Regions from separate parts of the Homo sapiens genome. Here all the other regions are linked to region 2. The links are contacts of gene promoters, found by promoter capture Hi-C in blood cells and fetal thymus (Javierre and others, 2016). All regions are on one chromosome and are shown on one strand. The core of a region is centred on a gene start or on the middle of the fragment in contact, and the rest is flanking DNA. Distances in the headings are between cores, read along the strand shown. Region 1 holds the start of DENR (density regulated re-initiation and release factor). Region 2 holds the start of MPHOSPH9 (M-phase phosphoprotein 9). Region 3 overlaps HIP1R (huntingtin interacting protein 1 related). Region 4 overlaps CCDC62 (coiled-coil domain containing 62). Region 5 overlaps TMED2 (transmembrane p24 trafficking protein 2). Region 6 holds the start of CCDC62 (coiled-coil domain containing 62). Region 7 overlaps DDX55 (DEAD-box helicase 55).

Region 1 (2,700 bases), core at 44-2,543, 480 kb before region 2:
GCGGCCTTCTGCAGTGTATTGTGTCTCTGGGTACTTGAGATTAGGGAGTGGTGATGATTCTTAAGGCGCATGCTGCCTTCAAGCATTTGTTTAACAAAGCACATCCTGCACAGCCCTTAATCCATTTAACCCTCAGTTGACACAGCACAGGTCTCAGGAAGCACAGGGTTGGTGGTAGGGTTACAGATTAACAGCATCTCAAGGCAGAAGAATTTTTCTTAGCACAGAACAAAATGGAGTCTCTTATGTCTACTTCTTTCTACACAGACACAGTAACAATCTGATCTTTCTTTTCCCCATATATTCCCATACTCTTACATTTTTCTTTTTTTCATTAAAAAAAATTGTAGGCCGGGCGCGGTGGCTCACGCCTGTAATCCCAGCACTTTGGGAGGCGGAGGCGGGAGGATCCCTTGAGTCCGGGAGTTCGAGACCAGCCTGGACAGCATAGGGAGATTCCCCCACCTCTATAAACAAATTAAAAATTAGCTGGGTGTGGTAACGCGCGCCTGTATTCCCAACTACTTGGGAGGTCGAGGCTGCAGTGAACCGTGTTTGTGCAACTGCACTCCATCCAGCCTAGGTGACAGAGTGAGACCCTGTCAAAACATAAAGAAAAGGATGAAGGAAGGGAGGGAGGAAGGAAGGAAGGGAGGGAGGAAGGAAGGAAAGAAGGAAGGAAGGGAGGGAGGGAGGGAAGGGGAAGAAAGAGACAGAAAGAAGAGAAAGAAGAAAGAAAAGAAAGAACAGAAAAGAAAGAAAAAAGAATTCCTTTAATTTAGTGTATGGTGTTAAAACGCAACCAAACGCTCCATCCGGCGAAGAGAGAGAGAAAAGAAGAGAGGAAGGAAAGAAGGAAGGGAGGGAGGGAGGGAGGGAGAACACCTTCCTTTAATTCAGTGCATGGTGTTAAAATGCGACCAAACGCTCTATCCGGCTGCAATCTCCCCGCACGGGAGTGATTTATGCAGTAGCTGGAGGTTAGTCAGGACTCCAGGATGCACCGCAGACACCGAGGCGATGATCCTCGGACTCATTAATAGGGAGTCATTTGTGACTCAGGTGCGCTCTCTGCGTCTGCAAGTCACGTTCCCTTCGGCACGCCCATCTCGAGGATTCATCCTCTCCAACGGGTGACGAGCACCGCCTGCCGGCGGCCCGCCTCTCGGCCTCTTGGCCACGCCCCCCACCGGAGGGCAAGGCGCACGCTCCGCAATTTTTCTCCGCCCCCGTCTTCCGGCTTCTCGCGACATCCGCCCAGCGGCGGCCGGAATCTCGCGATAAAGGCTCATTGTCTCGCGGGAGCGCTGCTGGCGGTCGGGCGCTCGGGCGGCCCTGGCCGGGGAGACGAGTTGCATGTGTTGGTTCAGCTGGCGATAGCGGCGGGAGCGGAGCCGGCGGGGCCTGTGCGACCGCCTGGGTAACGACCCCAAGTGCTTCTCCCGCTCCCGAGAAGCTCGTAGAGAGTGTGGGGGAAGCTGAGATGCTGCCTGGCGGAAGGGGGCCGGGCCGGGCCTCTCCACACCCCCGCCCACAAGGGCCCCTTCTGGCGTCCCCGGGGTTGCTCCTTCGCCTCAGACCTGGTCGCCCTTGTCCCCTCAGTGCTCTTACATTCTGCGCTCGTTTTCTCTCCTCATCCTTCTTACGCTCTGGTTACCCCGCCCCCTCCCATGCCCTTTTTAGACTCCCCAGGCCCCTCTCATGGCGTTTAGTTGCCCCCACACCCTGCACCCCGGGCTTCTCCGATGACCCACCCCTTGTTCCTAGGCACTTCCAGCCTCTCTCCATTCGGCGCCTTTGTAGCCCTTCTCTCACTGCAGTTTGCATCCCTCCCAGATCACCCTCAGACCTTTTTGCTCCGTGTCTGCCGTGGGTACTCACCCCATCTTTCCTTCCCCATTGCTTCCTGTTTTTCTCTAGTGAGTCCCTCTGCCCCATCCTTCATGGTCCATTTGCTGCTTGCTTCCCTGTAGACCTGTGGAGCAAGGAGATGTTGTGCCTGGGATTGCTCATATTTTATGAATCGAATGCAGCTTGTATCCCCCACTCAACAACAGACTTGAAACAGCTTTGGGGTGGGGAGGTTTCTGTTGAGAGGAACACTGCTCTTCTGGGGTCTTGATTCTAAAATAGTGAGGGTGTGTTATTTTCCTTGCTTACAGGTTTGTGAAATGGCTGCTGACATTTCTGAATCCAGCGGGGCTGACTGCAAAGGAGACCCAAGGAACAGTGCCAAGTTAGATGCCGATTACCCACTTCGAGTCCTTTATTGTGGAGGCAAGTGTTGGTAGCCACAGAATGACTTTTACTCACTATACTTTTATGCATTGTAATAACAGTTTGACATTTGGTAAGCTTTCTTCCCCATCCTTTTCATTTGGTGAGTTTGTACTGGGGGAGAGGAGTCCTGGGGAGGAGGAGGCATGAATTAACAGAGTTTCCCCACCTGGGTGATTTGTGTCTGGCTACTCTGCCTGAAGAAGCTTACAGTCCATTTGTAACAGGATGTGCAACTAGGTTATTTCAGCCTGAAGGTCCTCAAGGTGTATGCTAGTCTAGCTGTCAAAGGAGGGCTTCTTGGAAGATTATGAGTTAAGGATGGCAAGGACTGGATGAGAAGGTGGGGAACGGCGTCCCAGACAAAGCGCACGACTATGTAAGAAAAAGCTTGATGGCTGTCTGTGAAGAAGTGAGCAGCTT
Region 2 (2,700 bases), core at 33-2,532:
AAGGAGAAAGAAAGAAAACTTCAGCTGCTTACAAACTGAAAAGCTTAGAGAGTGCAACAGGAATATTATCTAGTATTCCGCTTCTGCTAGATTCCCACTTTCTAGGGCCTGCTTTTATAAAGCATTACACAAAAACAGGGACCATTTCCTTCAGGGACAGGAGTGAATGCAAAGGGTAACCGGACCTAACTAAATGGACTTTTCCCCAGTGGCTCAGCCCATCACCCACGACAAATGGGGCATTGAAACAGTCAAGGACTGCCCCTTCCAACTGGCAACAGAAATACCTGGATTCCAATCACCATGCTATTACACCAGGAAAACACAAGCTCTCCAGGGAGATGAACCTGCAACCCCATCTATTATTTCCCCTGCTAAGGTAATCCGGATCCGGATGCAGATCCAGATGGAAAACCACTAGAAATTCAAAGATGCTTCTCCATTTGGGGTGGAGGTGCTGGGGGGAGGGCAGGGAAGTAAGAGGGAAAAATCCTTAAACACCCACAAATACAATGCAAAAAAAAATTTTTTTAACTTGATACAGAATGAATATAAGAGCAGAGCTTTTATATTTCCCAGCAACAAGATATGACGCTTTTGGTGTCCCTACCCCCTAGCAAAAAAAGGGAGCTGGGGAAAAGGAACGATTGATGGTTATGAAACATGAAAGTTAACTGGGCGCTCCGCCTTGACGGGAGGCTTGGGGGAGAGGAAGAGATTTCAGATGGGGATGAGGCCAGATCCCGACATTCTGAGCTCACAGTCAGCCCGCAATGGCTGGTGGCGGCTATCGGGTCAAAGTGGGAAGGAGAGGGAGAATCTATGCAGTCGCCTAAGCTACGGAAAGCAGGGAGGACGGAGAAAAGCCACCGCTCCTGCAACTACAACCGCGATTCCAAAAGGAAACCGGGGCACCTTGGCAAAAAATGGGGGGAAAAATTAAAAAAACCCCACAAACCCCCCGCCCCTCAGGAAGAGCGATCTGCGATTGGGCCGCGCGAGTGTCACTCAAGGGCGCCGAGTCTAGAAAAGGCGCACCGCGGCCGGGCAGAGCTCCCACACGCCGAAGGGCTCCGAGGGGGTCAGGCCAATCGGCAGCCGTCACCCCACACCCCAGCCCATCACCACACTCAAGGGGCCGCTAAGACAGTGTCTCCTAAGTCTCGTCTCCTGTCCCCAGCGGCCTACAGCTCCCTGCAGGCTGGTGGCCGCTTACCTGGCCGCCGCTCCCGCTGCCGATGTCAGGGTCATGCAAGCGGCCTCTCGCGACCGTTACCCGAGGGAGCGCGCGCGCGCCCGGCGTCTCTCCAGTGATTGGCTGCCCGGAAGGAGGCGGAGACAGCCTCGCATGGCGCGCGCGTCCACCTCGCCGTTCCCCCTCGCGCAGCTCCAACCAAAGAGAGACATCCAACCCCGGGGGAGTGACAAGGGGGCGGGATTGCTGTGAAACTCTCTTCTCTGATTGGCTCTCTGGGAGCCAGCCGCTGCCACGAGGGAAAGAAGCTTCAGTTTCTCGCATGCGCAGTGAGTAAACATGAGCCTCTGGTAGATAAGAGAAACCGCGATCGGAGTACGGCGCGTGCGCAGATCAGGGATCGCGATTGCGAATCCTCCGCTGAGGTGATTTGGATATCCCTAGAACGTTGAGGGCACGAGTCGGGTCCTGAGACCAGGTAAGCATCTGCGGAGAAGCCAGGTAACCCTACGGCTGCCGACGACTGTCAAAGGCTCCGGAGAGAGGACTGCGAGCCGGGACGCCTGGGTTTTTCCCGACTTGCGACCCCGAGTGGCGCAGCCAGTTTACCTGAGGCCGCGCTGGCGGTGGGGTGGGGCCGGCCGTGACACCCGAGCTCAGTTTTCTCGGGACCTGGTTTACGCTAGGTGCTGTGGGTCGGCCCTGGGGCTGTTCAGGCACTCAGGGCAGGGGAGAGGAGAGACTACCGTCCTGGAGATAACGGTTCCACGGAGGCCCAAGGCGAAACGGAAGGATCCTCATGTACAAAACTGAGCGGAATGGAGCTGTGAGCACGCATCAGGTGCTGTTTCAGGCCTGGCACGTAGTAGAGGTCAGCACTGCCCTTGCTAGGCTTTTGCGGAGATACTCGTTTTTTTTTTAATAGACGTGGGGTGGGGGGGTCTCACTGTGTTGCCCAAGCTGATCTCGAACTCCTGGCCTCAAGCGATCCTCCTTCCTCGGCCTCCCAAAGTGCTGGGATCACAGGCGCAAGCCACCCAGCCCTACTTTTGAAGGACCAAAGGGAACTCGCTCTCCTCCCCGTGGGACCCCAGCCCATTTCATGCGCACTGTGCAGGCCACATTCTTCAGCATAGTTAACCTTTAAGGTCTTTCCAGCTACTCGATTTACCTCCAGGAGTTCTGGCTCACAGTAAAGGGACTTCCCTGGCACTATCACTTAGGCCTCCACAACCCAGGAAATGGATCTGCCCTTGGAATAACAGATCTGCCAGGAGGCGTTACATCTCATTGGAGCTTCCTAAGTATACCTACCAATTTTTTTTTACTTTTTTTATTTTTGTGGGGGAGGGGGGTAGGGGGGACAAGGTCTCTCTCTGTCACCCAGGCTGGAGGGCAGTGGCGCGATCTCGGCTCACTTTAACCTCTGCCTCCCGGGTTCAAGTGATTCTTCTGCTTCAGCCTCCCGAGTAGCCGGGAATACCGGTGCCCGCCACCACATCCGG
Region 3 (2,700 bases), core at 33-2,532, 380 kb before region 2:
GCCCTAACTCCTGTCCCCTTGGCTGGACACTGGAGCTCTGGTGACCCGGGGTTGATGGGCACGTGATTGGGGGCCGGCCCTCTTCCGGCGGCCCTGGCCTCTCTCAGCCGGGTTTGCTGAGCCCCCGTGCTCCAGTCTCTGCTTCCACACTTGGCCTTGACATTGCAGGCATCATTCTGGGCACACACCACGAGAAGGGGGCTTTCACCTTCTGGTCCTACGCCATTGGGCTGCCGCTGCCCAGCAGCTCCATTCTCAGCTGGAAGTTCTGCCACGTCCTCCACAAGGTCCTTCGAGACGGGCACCCCAATGTGAGTAGCAGCTGCTGCCTCTGCTCCCCGGAGCTGGGGCACTGTCCCGCGGACATGCGGGCTCTGGCCCTGTTCCTGTCCCCGTAGCTCCGGGCTGTTCCTCCCGCCTCGGGTGGGGAGTGCGTGTCTCAGGGCCCTGCCACACGGTCCTGGACACTCCCCCACTCCCGTATTCCCTGCGCTGCAGGTGCTGCATGACTGCCAGCGGTACCGCAGCAACATCCGGGAGATTGGAGACCTGTGGGTAGGTCCAGCCATTCTAGGTCCTGCCTGGCATTCGGGGCTTTCCTGAGCGTGTGGGGCTGAGCGAAGGGTGGCTCCCTGTGGGCAGTTCCCTGCGGGTGGCTGGGTTTTCCCAGGGGCGACAGTGGGAGGGGCAGCACGGGGAGATGCTGCCTGCCTTTGAGGGCCTGGCCCAGGGCGCTCCACACGCATAACCAGTGGGCCCTCCAGCGTCGAAGTCACCCGGGCCCTTTAGTCCTCACGAGTTGGGAAATGTGGCAAGACCACAGCCCGGGCACCTCGGTGGTTAGAGAGCCTGTGGCAGGGCGCAGGTTCCTGGGCTCCCCCAGACCTGCTGCTGAAGAATCAGGACTGGAGGTCTGCATTTTGAGCACACACACAGTAAGGCCTGAGAGCCCTGGGGGGCCTGCAATCTGGATGCACTGCAAGACCTCAGGAGTTAGAGATGTCCCTGGTGGGCAGAGGGCCTTGGCCTGGTTCTCTCTGGAGCACTGTGGGGTGCTCGTCTGCCTGGGCAGGGACATAGGAGCAGGGCAGGCCCTGGACCGGGTACCCACAGGGAGGCCTGACCAGGGCGTTATCCAACCCAGAACCACTGCCCGGACTCACTTCCCTTGAAGCGAGGAAAACACTGCCCATGGTGCCACCTGCAGATGCAGGCCCAGCTGGCCCGGCCGCAGGGGCCGTGGGGCTGGAGGAGGGAGCAGGGAGGATGTGTCCAGGCGCCCGTCGGGACGTGCCTCCCTGCCAGCACCAGCACTTTAATAAAGCGTCCCTGCTCAGAACTGGCCTGCCGCCCTGGACAAAGAGCTCTCTTCTCACAAGAGTTTCTTTGGCAGGAATGACAAGGAGGAAGATTAAGGGAAAAAGCTAGAGACAGAGAGGGTGGTTGGTGGAGGCCAGGAGAAGACGTTTGTTGAATGAAGAAGTGCCCGGTGGTGGGTCACTCTCGTGCCCAGGTCCTTGAGGACTCTTGGACGTGTTCACGAGCCGTGGCCCCTCACCCTGTCTGTCTTCACACAGGGACATTTGCATGACCGCTACGGACAGCTGGTGAATGTCTACACCAAGCTGCTGCTGACCAAGATCTCCTTCCACCTCAAGGTGGTTTCCTCGGGGGAGTCATGGGGCTGAGGGACCCGTGGGCTTTTCCCACTGTGACGTTATGGCACATGTTGGGACATCGAGGGTGGGATCTGTCCTCTCCATGAGTCTTTCCATTCACCTTCTTGTCCCAACTATGACTAAAGGGGAGACGGGGAAGCCAGGGCATCACGAAGCTCCTAGAACACTTCAGGCATTTCCGTGGACGTGGGCACGGGCTTCCCCAGGCGTTTCTGTGGACATGAGCGCTGGGCTTCCTCAGTCTCTGCTGTGCTGGCCGGGTGCTCCCCTCCTCCCAACCCCTCCACTGCCCTCTGCCACCTATGTGGGCCACAGCCTGGGTCTGCCAAGAGCAGGGTCCAGCGTGGGGCCCCCTGGTTCAGTGGCCGCTGGGTTGGGGGGGCCCTGGTTCAGTGGCCGCTGGGTGGGGGGGGCCCTGGTTCGGTGGCCGCTGGGTTGGGGGGCCCCCTGGTTCGGTGGCTGCTGGGTGGGGGGGCCCTGGTTCGGTGGCCGCTGGGTGGGGGGGGCCCTGGTTCGGTGGCCGCTGGGTGGGGGGGGCCCTGGTTCGGTGGCCGCTGGGTGGGGGGGCCCCCTGGTTCGGTGGCTGCTGGGTGGGGGGGCCCTGGTTCGGTGGCCGCTGGGTGGGGGGGGCCCTGGTTCGGTGGCCACTGGGTGGGGGGGGCCCTGGTTCGGTGGCCGCTGGGTGGGGGGGCCCCCTGGTTCGGTGGCCGCTGGGTTGGGGGGCCCTGGTTCGGTGGCCGCTGGGTGTGGGGGGCCCTGGTTCAGTGGCCGCTGGGTGGGGGGGAGCCCTGGTTCGGTGGCCGCCAGGTGTGGGGGGGCCCTGGTTCAGTGGCCGCTGGGTGGGGGTTCTCTCCACAGCATCCCCAGTTTCCCGCGGGCCTGGAGGTGACAGATGAGGTACTGGAGAAGGCAGCTGGGACCGATGTCAACAACATGTGAGTCACTCTGCATGGCTACATAGCCAGTTCCCCTCGGCTTCCCCATTCCTTCCTACCGCGTCTCACGCCCAGGCGTCCGCATG
Region 4 (2,700 bases), core at 159-2,658, 410 kb before region 2:
TGTAAGAAAGTAGACCTTATTGTACATATAGAAAGTTGGAATTATGCTAAGAATGAAAAAGACTTCTCTGTAAAGATACGGACTACAGTTAAATGCTAGAGAAGCTCTTTAAAAATGTGAATGTCAAATAGAGAAAGAACCCTGCATAGAAAGTGCTGTTTTAACTATCTGATTTTTAAAAAATCTGTGCATACATTTAAATTCTAAACAATAGCTTATCAGAGTCAGCTCAAAATATATGAGAAACAGTATTCTCTCATGGTTTTAGCTTTTGACTTTGCTGTGTAAATAGACATAAGGTGCTTTGATATAAAATATAAAATGTAACTGGAAAATAGCTCGAGGTCCTTCTGTCCCAAGCTGAGCAGAGCCCCATCTTTCTGGGTCTATATTAGTCCCACCTACTGACACAAACAAAAGCTTGCTGGAAGATCGAGTTTTAGACGCATTTTTAAAAATCTTAAAGACTAAAACACTTCCATTTTAACTTGTAAAGTAATTTAATTTTTTAAAGATTATACTATATGCCTCTGTGTCTTCTCTAAAAGAATAGATCAACTTCAGTCCATAAAAGATATTTTTAATATTAAAGAAAAAATATGTTTCCTTGGTTTCTTTTTATTTTACAGGAGTAAAATAAGGAAGGAACGTTCATCACTTTAAACTGAACCTGGCAAGTTAATTTCCTCAGGAATGGGGATGTATTTTTTTAAGCATTGCAGATATCAAAGTTCTATTGTGCTGAATAAATGCCCCTTTGTTAACAGGTCTCAGTGTTACTTCAGAGATGATTTTCATGAGCGGGGAAGAGCCACCTCATTTAGCCTTTTTAATTAGGGTGCTGAAAAGAGAAGTTGGGTGAGGTTTGGTTATGTTCTTTATCAATGCGTGCTTTCTCCCTCAGGCTGGGCTGTCTAGAGCAAAACGGAGAAAGGTATAGTTGCTTCTGAGCTGCTGCCTGCCAAGTAGAAACCTAAAATGACCCTTGGGGAGCGTGACTTCCTATCTAAGAATCAAAATATTAAATTTTCTCCTCCTTTTCATGTTCATGACTGCACATCAACTTGCCTAGTGAAAAGGCAACACTGAATAGATGCTAAATAGGAACATGTCAGGGAACTAAAGGATTTGATAACAATTAAACATTATTTTATGGCTAAATGTATTTTAGCTCATAGGATTATAGTACCTACGACACCTGACACCTATTGTATCCCACCAGCTTATCGTTCCATATGCAATCCAACAATGAGAAATTTCAGCTGGGTGTGGCGGCTTATGCCTGTAATTCCAGCACTTTGGGAGCCTAAGGCAGGTGGATCACTTGAGATCAGAGGTTCGAGACCAGCCTGGCCAACATGACAAAACCCCCTCTCTACTAAAAATACAAAAAATTAGCTGGGCATGGTGTCACGCGCCTGTAATCCCAGCTACTTGGGAGGCTGAGGCAGGAGAATTGCTTGAACCCAGGAGGTGGAGGTTGCAATGAGCCAAGATCGTACCACTGCACTCCAGCTTGGGTGACAGAGTGAGGTCCCGTCTCAAAAAAAAAAAAAAAAAAAAAAAAAGAATGAGAAATTTAATGTTAGCAATGCATCTAGCTCAACCGAAGTTATTTATTTATTTATTTATTTATTTATTTATTTTTTTGAGACAGAGTCTCTCTCTGTCGCCCAGGCTGGAGTGCAGTGGCGTGATCTCAGCTCACTGCAACCTCCGCCTTTCAGGTTCAAGTGATTCTCCTGCCTCAGCCTCCCGAGTAGCTGGGACTACAGGTGTGCGCCACCATGCCCAGCTAAATTTTGTATTTTTAGTAGAGACGGGGTTTCACCATATTGGCAAGGCTGGTCTTGAACTTCTGACCTTGTGATCCACCTTCTCGGCCTCCCAAAGTGCTGGGATTACAGATGTAAGCCACTGCACCTGGCCCAAACTGAGTCATTTAAATGACAGGATTTCGTTTGTTTTTATGGCTAAATAGTATTCCATTATGTATATATATACTACTTTTTTTTTTTTGAGACCGAGTCTCACTCTGTTGCCCAGGCTGGAGTGCAGTGGCTCAATTCCAGCTCACTGCAACCTCCACCTCCCGAGTTCAAGCAATTCTCCTGCCTCAGTCTCCTGAGAAGCTAGGATTACAGGTGCCCACCACCACTCCTGGCTAACTTTTTGTTTTTTTAGTAGAGACGGGGTTTCGTCATGTTGGCCAGGCTGGTGTTGAACTCCTGGCCTAATGTGATCCTCCCAACTCAGCCTCCCAAAGTGCTGGGATTACAGGCGTGAGCCACCACATTTCTTTATCCACTCATCTGTTGATGGGCATTTAGGTTGCTTCCACATCTTGGCTGTTGTGAGCAGTGCTGCAGTGAACGTGGAGTGCAGATACCCCTGACCTAAGCTTTGAGCAATTTCTGTTAGAGAGGCAGTCTCCTTTTTTTTTCTATACTTTAATGGATGCACAGAGGCAGTCTCATAGAGTATTTGAAATAGTTACAAGATAAAACTAGATTTTAGCATTTATGTCTTATCAGCAACATTCTTAAGATCAACACATCTGAAGAGGAGGCAAATGAATTATACTACAATCTGCCTGCCAGAAGTAATCTCAGCATTGGAAAAGACTGATATAAGGGTATTTTTAGAATCTGTGAATGGATTTTTTTTTTAATTTTATTTTTAGTGACAGGGTCTCACTCT
Region 5 (2,700 bases), core at 176-2,675, 360 kb after region 2:
TGGTAGTCAGGCATAGTGACGCACCCCTCAGGAGGCTGAGGCAGGGGATTGCTTGAGCCCAGGAATTTTAGGTTACAGTGAGCTATAATTGCACCACTGTACTTGAGCCTGGGTGATAGAGTGAGATCCTGTCTTGAAAAAAAAAAAAGATGGCTGGGTGCAGTGGCTCACGCATGTAATTCCAGCATTTTGGGAGGCTCAAGCAGGTGGATCACCTGAGGTCAGGAGTTCAAGACCAGCCTGACCAACATGGTGAAACCCCGTCTCTACTAAAAATACAAAAATTAGCTGGGTGTGGCAGCGTGTGCCTGTAATCCCAGCTACTCTGGAGGCTGAGGCAGGAGAATCGCTTCAGCCTGGGAGGCAGAGGTTGCAGTGAGCTGAGATTGAGCACCACTGCACTCCAGCCTGGGCAACAGAGCGAGACTCTGTCTCAAAAAAAAAAAAAAAAAGACATTGACAAATGTGTTTTGTTTTCAAATCCTTCTATAGCTCACCAGAACAAGCTAGAAGAAATGATCAATGAGCTAGCAGTGGCGATGACAGCTGTAAAGCACGAACAGGAATACATGGAAGTCCGGGAGAGAATACACAGAGCCAGTAAGTGAATGCCGTCACTTTGCAGCAGTGTCTGATGGTGAAGGTTGTTTTACTCAACAGCTTGCTCGTATTTTCCTCATTTGGAAACTTTGCAAATTTTATGTGAAAGCATTGACTTTAAAAGTGTACCTACACGAGATATTTTTTGAGCATACACATGTGTGGAGCTTTGTAGTTTATTATTGGGACATTCATTGTAAACTAGAAAATGCTATTAAGATTTAGTACAAGTTTTTAAGAGTTTAGTTTTCTGGCCGGGCATGGTGGCTCACGCCTGTAATCCCAGCACTTTGGGAGGCTGAGGCAGGCGGATCACCTGAGGTTGGGAGTTCGAGACCAGCCTGGCCAACATGGTGAAACCTCGTCTCTACAAAAAATAAAAAAATTAGCTGGGTGTGGTGGCGTGCACCTATAGTCCCAGCTACTCGGGAGGCTGAGGCATGAGAATCACTTGAACCGGGAGGCAGAGGTTGCAGTGAGCTGAGATTGGGCCACTGCACTCCAGCCTGGGCAATGGAGCTAGACTCTGTCTCAGGGAAAAAAAAAAAAAAAAGTTTGGGTTTTTAAAAATGTATGGTGAGCTAAGGAATAAGCTAATTGTTTTCTTAAATCAGAAGGGAAAAATGTTGTAAAATGCGTATTGCATTGGTTTTTAATCACATACCTGAAACTTATGTACCAGTGGGATTAATATTAGATGCTGAGATTTAACCTTTTTACTAAAATGGAAAGCTTAATATAGTTAGACTAGAAAACACCAAAACATGAGTACAGGGAAGTCACCAGGTGAAGATCAGTTTGGGTCCTCAAGTTTGTAAGTTGGGAATTTGGAATGTATTTTGCTGTGGAAACAGTGATGATTGAAATCTTGTGTTAGGTTGCAAAAGTCTGTTTAGAACTGGATAGAGCATTAAAAATGAAGCTTTTGCATTTAAAATTAAGAGGTACTATATTGACAGACAGACCAATTCCATTGATTAGGTTCAGGGCCACACCATTGTTCAGTGTTTTCATCCTCCAGGTAGTTCTTGGGGAGATGAAAAGAGCAAGGTGGCTGGGGGCAGTGGCTCACGCCTGTAATCCTAGCACTTTGGGAGGCTGAGGTGGGCGGATCACAAGGTCAAGAGACTGAGACCATCCTGGCCAACATGGTGAAATCCCACCTCTACTAAAACTACAAAAATTAGCCGGGCATGGTGGCACGCGCCTGTAGTCCCAGCTACTCAGGAGGCTGAGGCAGGAGAATCACTTGAACCCCGGAGGCGGAGGTTGCAGTGAGCTGATATCATGCCATTGCACTCCGGCCTGGCGACAGAGCGAGACTCTGTCTGAAAAAAAAAAAGGAAAAAGAGCAAGGTATAGTGACGCATCTCTGTAGTCCCAGCTACTCAGGAGGCTGAGGCGGGGGATTGCTTGGGAGCAAGCTCTTGTCTTAAGGGCAGTGATTTTATGTCAGGAATCTTTGTTCTGAGACTGGAGTAGGAAGTGAAGAGTGACTCAAAGAGATAAGCACAGCTTGAATTTCTTCCAGATGTGCTTTCTGTTTTTCCTACCCTTAAATCTGTTCTTGCTACTTATGGAAACAAATCTTCAGGATCTAGAGCACAGACATCAGCTTGTGTTGGCAGGAAGGTGTGTAAATGTAATAGCCTGGAGAACTCCCCTCATCCCCACTTGTTTTAGGAGTGGAGTGGGGCATATTATGGACCAAGGCTTGTCTACAATTACTCCAGCCTCTTGCCTCACAATTTTGTCTCCTTGCCTCCACTCTTAATCTCACCAGCTGGGATCTTCACTTTTTCTCTCTTATCTTGTTGGGACTCATATGTTGTTTACCTTGTTCCCAGATGGGGAAACAGCCCATTCTGGAGTTGGAAGGGCACTGAACTAACTCAGAGGGCAAGTTCCTCTACTTTGCAATTTTAACTGGTTCAGACCAGATGGCTTTCAAGTTATAGAAGTTCTTGGGAACACAGTGGCCAGAGGAAGCACATGTCTTCCGTCTTTAGGGTGTCCAACCTTGTTCTCTCACCCATGATTTGAGTGGAGATACTCCTGTATTTGTTTCACAAATAGTGAGCTATGTGTTCATATTTAAAA
Region 6 (2,700 bases), core at 134-2,633, 460 kb before region 2:
AAAATTTATTTTTTGGCCAGGTGCGGTAGCTCACACCTGTAATCCCAGCACTTTGGGAGGCTGAAGTGGGTGGGTCAACTGAGGTCAGGAGTTCGCGACCAGCCTGGCCAAGGTAGTGAAACCCATCTCTACTAAAAATACAACAAAGGTGGCGTGGTGGCGGGCACCTGTAATCCCAGCTACTCGGGAGGCTGAGGCAGGAGATTTGCTTGAGGCCAGAGGCAGAGTTTGCAGTGAGCCGAGATTGTGCCATTGCACTCCAGCTCAGGCAACAAGAGCCAGACTCCATCTCAAAAAAAAAAAAAAAAAAAGTTTTTTAGAGGTGGGTGTCACCATGTTGCTCAGGCTGGTCTCAAACTCCTGAACGCAACAGATCCTCCTACATTGGCCTCCCAAAGTGCTGGGGTTACAGGCCACTGCGCCCAGCTTTCTTGATTTTAAATTCTAAGACATTGCTTTGGTCTCCCAAACATGAGCCTATCAGTAAAGCTTCAAAATAAGAAATCTTAATTTTGTTTTTCCATTTTCAGATTGTATTTTTTGAACACAAGGGCATGTTTTGGCATTTCATATTCAACCAAAAAGTAAAGTTGAAACCCTGTAAGACCGACCGTATTTAGTAATTGTGTTGCTGTCTGATGGGTTAAGCATTCAGGGATGGGCAGCCGGGGCTGAAGTGTGATAAGCCTTATTTTTTCCTAGTCCCGTTCCCACATCTTAGGAAGAGTGAAAGGGGGATGAAGAGGTGACTATGGAAGAACAGGTGAAAAAGCTTAGATTCAACCCAGAATATCGTAGATTTTGTCATGACAAAGTACCGTGGTTCTCCTCATTGCTTTTCAGGAGCTCCCAAGAGTAAATTTCCCCCTCTTCATCTGTGATTCTTGGTTTAAAGTATCAAAGGTGCTAGGGTAGCCCGCAACTGTTATCCCCGAGGGCTGGGCTCTGCCTCCACGCATTCGAGTGTCAGGTCCTGTTCTGGGAGCCAGCTACACAGGAGCGAGCACGGCCGAGCTCACGGTTATTAGGGGGAAGATGGAAGATAGGGAAGTGAGCAACTCAAATGTCATAAACCAGAGTGCTGGGGGCGGCGCAGCAGCCTTTATTGACTTCTTCATTCTCTGGGTAGTGGTGAACAGCCGGTTCTTTCAGGCCTTCCAGCGCCGGAGCCTCGGGCGTGGGCAAAAAGCGTCCATACGCAGCCTGAGCCACTTGGGAGCCCCCAGTTTCCGAGGCAGAAGAACAGTGCCCACCAGCGCAGCGGGGCTGCGGCCCGGAAACCCTGGCGGGGAGCCCCGAGCCCCGGCGGGCGCACGCCGCGTGGGCACCAGGCAGGCGGTTGGAGTACGGGGCGGGGGTCGGCCGAGGGCGCGGGGCCCCGGGGCTCCGGGCTCGCCCCCGCCGCTCGGGGCAGGCGCGCCGATGGCGTTTCTGAGGTGACGCCGCCCACACCGGGCTTCTCCGGGGGCGGAGGAAACACCTATGAACCCTCCGGCAGCCTTCCTTGCCGGGCGCCAGGTAAGCAGCGGTTCCGGGCGCGGCGGGGCGCCGCGGGAACGGTGCACATTGGTCGAAATCTATTGCTTCTCAAGAACGGTGTCTACTTAAAATGTGAAACAGGCCGGGCGCGGTGGCTCACGCCTGTAATCCCAGCGCTTTGGGAGGCGGAGGCGGGCGGATCACGAGGTCAGGAGATCGAGACCATCCTGGCTAACACAGTGAAACCCCGTCTCTACTAAAAATAAAAAAAAAAAAATTAGCCGGGCGTGGCGGCGGGCGCCTGTAATCCCAGCTACTCGGGAGGCTGAGGCAGGAGAATGGCGTGAACCCGGGAGGCAGAGCTTGCAGTGAGCCGAGATCGCGCCACTGCACTCCAGCCTGGGCGACAGAGCGAGACTCCGTCTCAAAAAAAAAAAAAAAAAAAAAAAGTGAAACAATACACTAGAGGAAAACGGCGTCACGACCGTTTCCTTAACCCAATAACACCTTGTTATTCAGCCCGGGCCACAGAGTAGCGCGTACCCGGTGCTTACTGTTTAAGGAGGACGATTGGCGTCTGGGGAGCTGCTTTCCCATTTACCTCTCAGGGTGTCCTTAATTTACACAACCTGGCGAGTAGAGGAAGGAGCTCTCACAACTCCACTGTACCAAAAAGTCTGGAAGTGGGCTTGCCCAAGGTTCGCGTCCATCAGTGTAAGACGACCTGCCTTTGTGTACTCGGCTTACTGCCTGTTTTCCTGGAGTGGAATATGTGCTCCTTGCCTGGAGGTCTGTGGCCCAGCCACTGGCGCTCAATAAATTATTTGTTGAGTGCATGAATGAAGGGCTAACCCAACACTGGAATTCAAGCCTTGGGACTTGAAATCCCTTGACTCCAAATTCCATTTTCCTTGTTAAGACTAGCAACTGTAATTTATTCATCATTCTTATTTATTTATTTTTGAGACAGGGTCTGGCTCTGTCCCCAGGGCTGGAGTACAGTGACGCAATGTCGGCTTACTGCAGCCTCTGCTTCCCGAGTTCAAGCAATCCTCCCGCCTCAGCCTCCCAAATAGCTGGGACTACAGGCTCCCACCACCATGCCGAGCTAATTTTTGTGTTTTTAGTAGAGACAGGGTTTCGCCATGTTGGCCAGGCTGGTCTCGAACTCCCGACCTCAGGTGATCTGCCCACCTCGGCCTTCCAAAGTGCTGGGATTAC
Region 7 (2,700 bases), core at 198-2,697, 380 kb after region 2:
CAGCAGCCCAGGTTTGGTCCGGGAGCTGGAGTTTGCCAACCTTGCCTAGGTCATAGCCCAGAACCCAGATCCCGTCTCACCACAGCCCTCAGTCTTTCTACCCTGCAGCACTCTTCTACTCTCATGCTCTTCGTTCTCTTCACTAGGGCTTAAATGACTTTGGGGGGATATAAAACTTGGTATTTTGGTAATCATCAACCACATTCCCAAGATCCAGAGAGTTTGGTAAATGTTAACTTTCTTTCCAAAGTGGGAACATCATTGTGGCCACTCCAGGCCGCTTGGAGGACATGTTCCGGAGGAAGGCCGAAGGCTTGGATCTGGCCAGCTGTGTGCGATCCCTGGATGTCCTGGTGTTGGATGAGGCAGACAGACTTCTGGACATGGGGTTTGAGGCAAGGTACTGGACTTTGGACTTCACTGGCTTGAGTGGGCAGATGATACTAATACAAAAGGGGAGCAAAATGGAGTTTACTGTTTCATGACTAGGTATTTTTATTTTTTATTTTCATTTTTATTTATTTTTTATTTATTTGTTTATTAGAGACAGGGTCTTGTGCTGTCACCCAGGCTGGAGTGCAGTGGTGTGATTATGTTCACTGCAGCCTCAACCTCTCGGGCTCAGATGATCCTCCTGCATCAGCCTCCCGGGTAGCTGGGATTACAGGTGCACACCACCATGCCTGGATGGTTTTTTTATTTTTTGCAGATGAGGTTTTGCCATGTTGCCCAGTCTGTTCTCAAACTCCTGGACTTAAGTGATCCTCCTACCTAGGGTACCCAAAGTGCTAGGATTACAGGTGCCAGCCACCATGCCTGGCCTAAGTATTTTTATTAACCACATTTTAATTTCAAATCATTAAGTAGTTTGAGCTTTCAAATTCTACCACGTGATTTTATTCCAGTTCTATCTTTGATCTTAAAATGCACTTTCCTTCAAGTTTTTTTTTTTTTTTTTTTTTTGAGACAGGGTCTCACTCTGTCATCCAGGCTAGAATGCAGTGGCATGATTTCGGGTCATTGCGACCTTTACTTCCTGGGCTTAAGTGATCCTCCCACCTCAGCCTCCTGAGTCATCTGGGACTACAGGCACATGCCATCATGCTTTTTTTTTTTAATTTTTGGCAGAGACAAGATCCCATTATGTTGCCCAGGTTGGTCTCAAACTCCTGGGCTCAAGAGATCTTCCCATCCCAGTCTCCCGAAGTGCTGGGATTACAAGCATGAGCCATCACACCTGGCAGTTTTGTTGTTTTTTAATAAACAGCTTTATGGGATATAATTCACATATCATTATAATTGTATGCTAAAATTTGAGGAACCTTGGAAAAATGAAAGTATAAAGAAGAAACAAAGAATCACCTATAATCTCACCTCCCAGTGTATGTGCTATAAATATTTTGATGGCTTCACTTTCAGTCTTTTTGAATACCTGTTTAGTATCGTGAAGCACTGTGTGTTGATTCTGCTGGCAAGTGAGCGGTTAAGTGTGAGCCCTCTTTTTATCAGCATCAACACCATTCTGGAGTTTTTGCCAAAGCAGAGGAGAACAGGCCTTTTCTCTGCCACTCAGACGCAGGAAGTGGAGAACCTGGTGAGAGCGGGCCTCCGGAACCCTGTCCGGGTCTCAGTGAAGGAGAAGGGCGTGGCAGCCAGCAGTGCCCAGAAGACCCCCTCCCGCCTGGAAAACTACTACATGGTAAGCGCCTGGGCTTGCTTCTTACTCAGCGATAATGACCAGTGCTCATTTTATGGAAATTGTACTGGTAGAATAAATATGTGAGACCCTGTAGCACCTATGAAATGCATTTGGGGACAGAGCTAGCTAGGGCAAATGGCCTGAGTGGTCCTACTCATTGAATGAATAAGTTAAATTGGACATAAATGTATTTTAAGCACAGTCTCTAAGGACAGAGTCTCTGAACCTCCTACCCTCAAGTGACCAAATGTTTCTATTGTACATGCTTGGGGTGTGCTGGGTGCAGCCATGACTAAGCTCTGTAGTTCCTGGGCCCGTCAGAACAGCCTGTCTGACAGAGAAGGGCATAGTTAGATGTGCAGGTGGAACACAGAAAATCAAATGACAGACTCACTCCTAAGGAGACTTTGTGGGGTGGAAATGTTCTGCTCCGTAAATGTTGTGTATTTTTGACCTGCATCAAATATGCTGAGTTTCTTTTTTTTTTTTTTTTTTTTTTTTGAGACAGAGTCTGGCTCTGTCGCCCAGGCTGGAGTGCAGTGGCGCGATCTCAGCTCACTGCAAGCTCCGCCTCCTGGGTTCATGCCATTCTCCTGCCTCAGCCTCCCGAATAGCTGGGACTACAGGCGCCCGCCACCACGCCCGGCTAATTTTTTGTTAGCCCTGTTAGCCAGGATGGTCTCCATCTCCTGACCTGGTGATCCACCTGCCTCGGCCTCCCAAAGTGCTGGGATTACAGGTGTGAGCCACCGCGCCCGGCCGTTTTTTTTTGTTTGTTTTTTTTTGTTTTGAGACGGGGTCTCACCCTGTCACCCAGGCTGGAGTGCAATGGCACGATCTCGGCTCACTGCAACCTCTGCCTCCTGGTTCAAGCAATTCTTCTGCCTCAGTCTCCCGAGTAGCTGGGATTACAGGCATGTGCCACCATGCCCAGCTAATTTTTTGTATCTTTAGTAGAGGTGGGGTTTCACCACATTGGACAGGCTGGTCTTGAACTCCTG

What was found. The method cuts DNA at HindIII sites, captures the fragments that hold promoters and counts their contacts. A CHiCAGO score of 5 or more calls a contact.
Region 1: a contact is called between the fragment with the promoter of DENR here and the fragment with the promoter of MPHOSPH9 in region 2, in 2 of 17 cell types (M1 macrophages and naive B cells). The highest score is 5.2, in M1 macrophages.
Region 3: a fragment that was not itself captured here is called in contact with the fragment with the promoter of MPHOSPH9 in region 2 in 1 of 17 cell types (endothelial precursors); the score reaches 6.0 in endothelial precursors.
Region 4: a fragment that was not itself captured here is called in contact with the fragment with the promoter of MPHOSPH9 in region 2 in 2 of 17 cell types (M2 macrophages and endothelial precursors); the score reaches 5.8 in M2 macrophages.
Region 5: a contact is called between a fragment that was not itself captured here and the fragment with the promoter of MPHOSPH9 in region 2, in 11 of 17 cell types (erythroblasts, megakaryocytes, naive CD4 T cells and 8 more). The highest score is 9.5, in erythroblasts.
Region 6: the fragment with the promoter of CCDC62 here is called in contact with the fragment with the promoter of MPHOSPH9 in region 2 in 3 of 17 cell types (naive B cells, naive CD4 T cells and M2 macrophages); the score reaches 6.4 in naive B cells.
Region 7: a contact is called between a fragment that was not itself captured here and the fragment with the promoter of MPHOSPH9 in region 2, in 1 of 17 cell types (naive CD4 T cells). The highest score is 5.0, in naive CD4 T cells.

What each region holds. Positions count from the first base shown.
Region 1 is chr12:122,751,531-122,754,230 of GRCh38, forward strand. It overlaps DENR (density regulated re-initiation and release factor), which reads left to right and starts at 1,294. Exons shown (of 8, transcript NM_003677.5): 1 at 1,294-1,420; 2 at 2,163-2,277. The coding sequence starts at 2,172. RefSeq lists enhancers at 1-651, 1,743-1,802 and a silencer at 1,553-1,602. The HindIII fragment of the contact is 18,243 bases long and covers 1-2,353 here.
Region 2 is chr12:123,231,859-123,234,558 of GRCh38, forward strand. It overlaps MPHOSPH9 (M-phase phosphoprotein 9), which reads right to left and starts at 1,283. Exons shown (of 24, transcript NM_022782.4): 1 at 1,217-1,283. It overlaps MTRFR (mitochondrial translation release factor in rescue), which reads left to right and starts at 1,578. Exons shown (of 3, transcript NM_152269.5): 1 at 1,578-1,673. RefSeq lists an enhancer at 1,056-1,295. The HindIII fragment of the contact is 1,460 bases long and covers 42-1,501 here.
Region 3 is chr12:122,848,298-122,850,997 of GRCh38, forward strand. It overlaps HIP1R (huntingtin interacting protein 1 related), which reads left to right. Exons shown (of 32, transcript NM_003959.3): 3 at 169-311; 4 at 499-555; 5 at 1,578-1,658; 6 at 2,538-2,614. Among named protein-coding and RNA genes, the nearest start is that of HIP1R, 14 kb to the left of the region's middle. The HindIII fragment of the contact is 3,405 bases long and covers 1-2,700 here.
Region 4 is chr12:122,826,617-122,829,316 of GRCh38, forward strand. CCDC62 (coiled-coil domain containing 62) reads left to right here. Exons shown (of 13, transcript NM_201435.5): 13 at 1-912. Among named protein-coding and RNA genes, the nearest start is that of HIP1R, 7.5 kb to the right of the region's middle. The HindIII fragment of the contact is 1,981 bases long and covers 419-2,399 here.
Region 5 is chr12:123,589,850-123,592,549 of GRCh38, forward strand. TMED2 (transmembrane p24 trafficking protein 2) reads left to right here. Exons shown (of 4, transcript NM_006815.4): 3 at 493-600. Among named protein-coding and RNA genes, the nearest start is that of TMED2, 6.6 kb to the left of the region's middle. The HindIII fragment of the contact is 190 bases long and covers 1,331-1,520 here.
Region 6 is chr12:122,773,189-122,775,888 of GRCh38, forward strand. It overlaps CCDC62 (coiled-coil domain containing 62), which reads left to right and starts at 1,384. Exons shown (of 13, transcript NM_201435.5): 1 at 1,384-1,518. The coding sequence starts at 1,483. RefSeq lists silencers at 1,222-1,431, 1,954-2,248 and enhancers at 1,531-2,224, 1,612-1,751. The HindIII fragment of the contact is 6,061 bases long and covers 771-2,700 here.
Region 7 is chr12:123,608,430-123,611,129 of GRCh38, forward strand. DDX55 (DEAD-box helicase 55) reads left to right here. Exons shown (of 14, transcript NM_020936.3): 6 at 251-400; 7 at 1,510-1,699. Among named protein-coding and RNA genes, the nearest start is that of SNORA9B, 6.9 kb to the right of the region's middle. The HindIII fragment of the contact is 3,225 bases long and covers 1-2,700 here.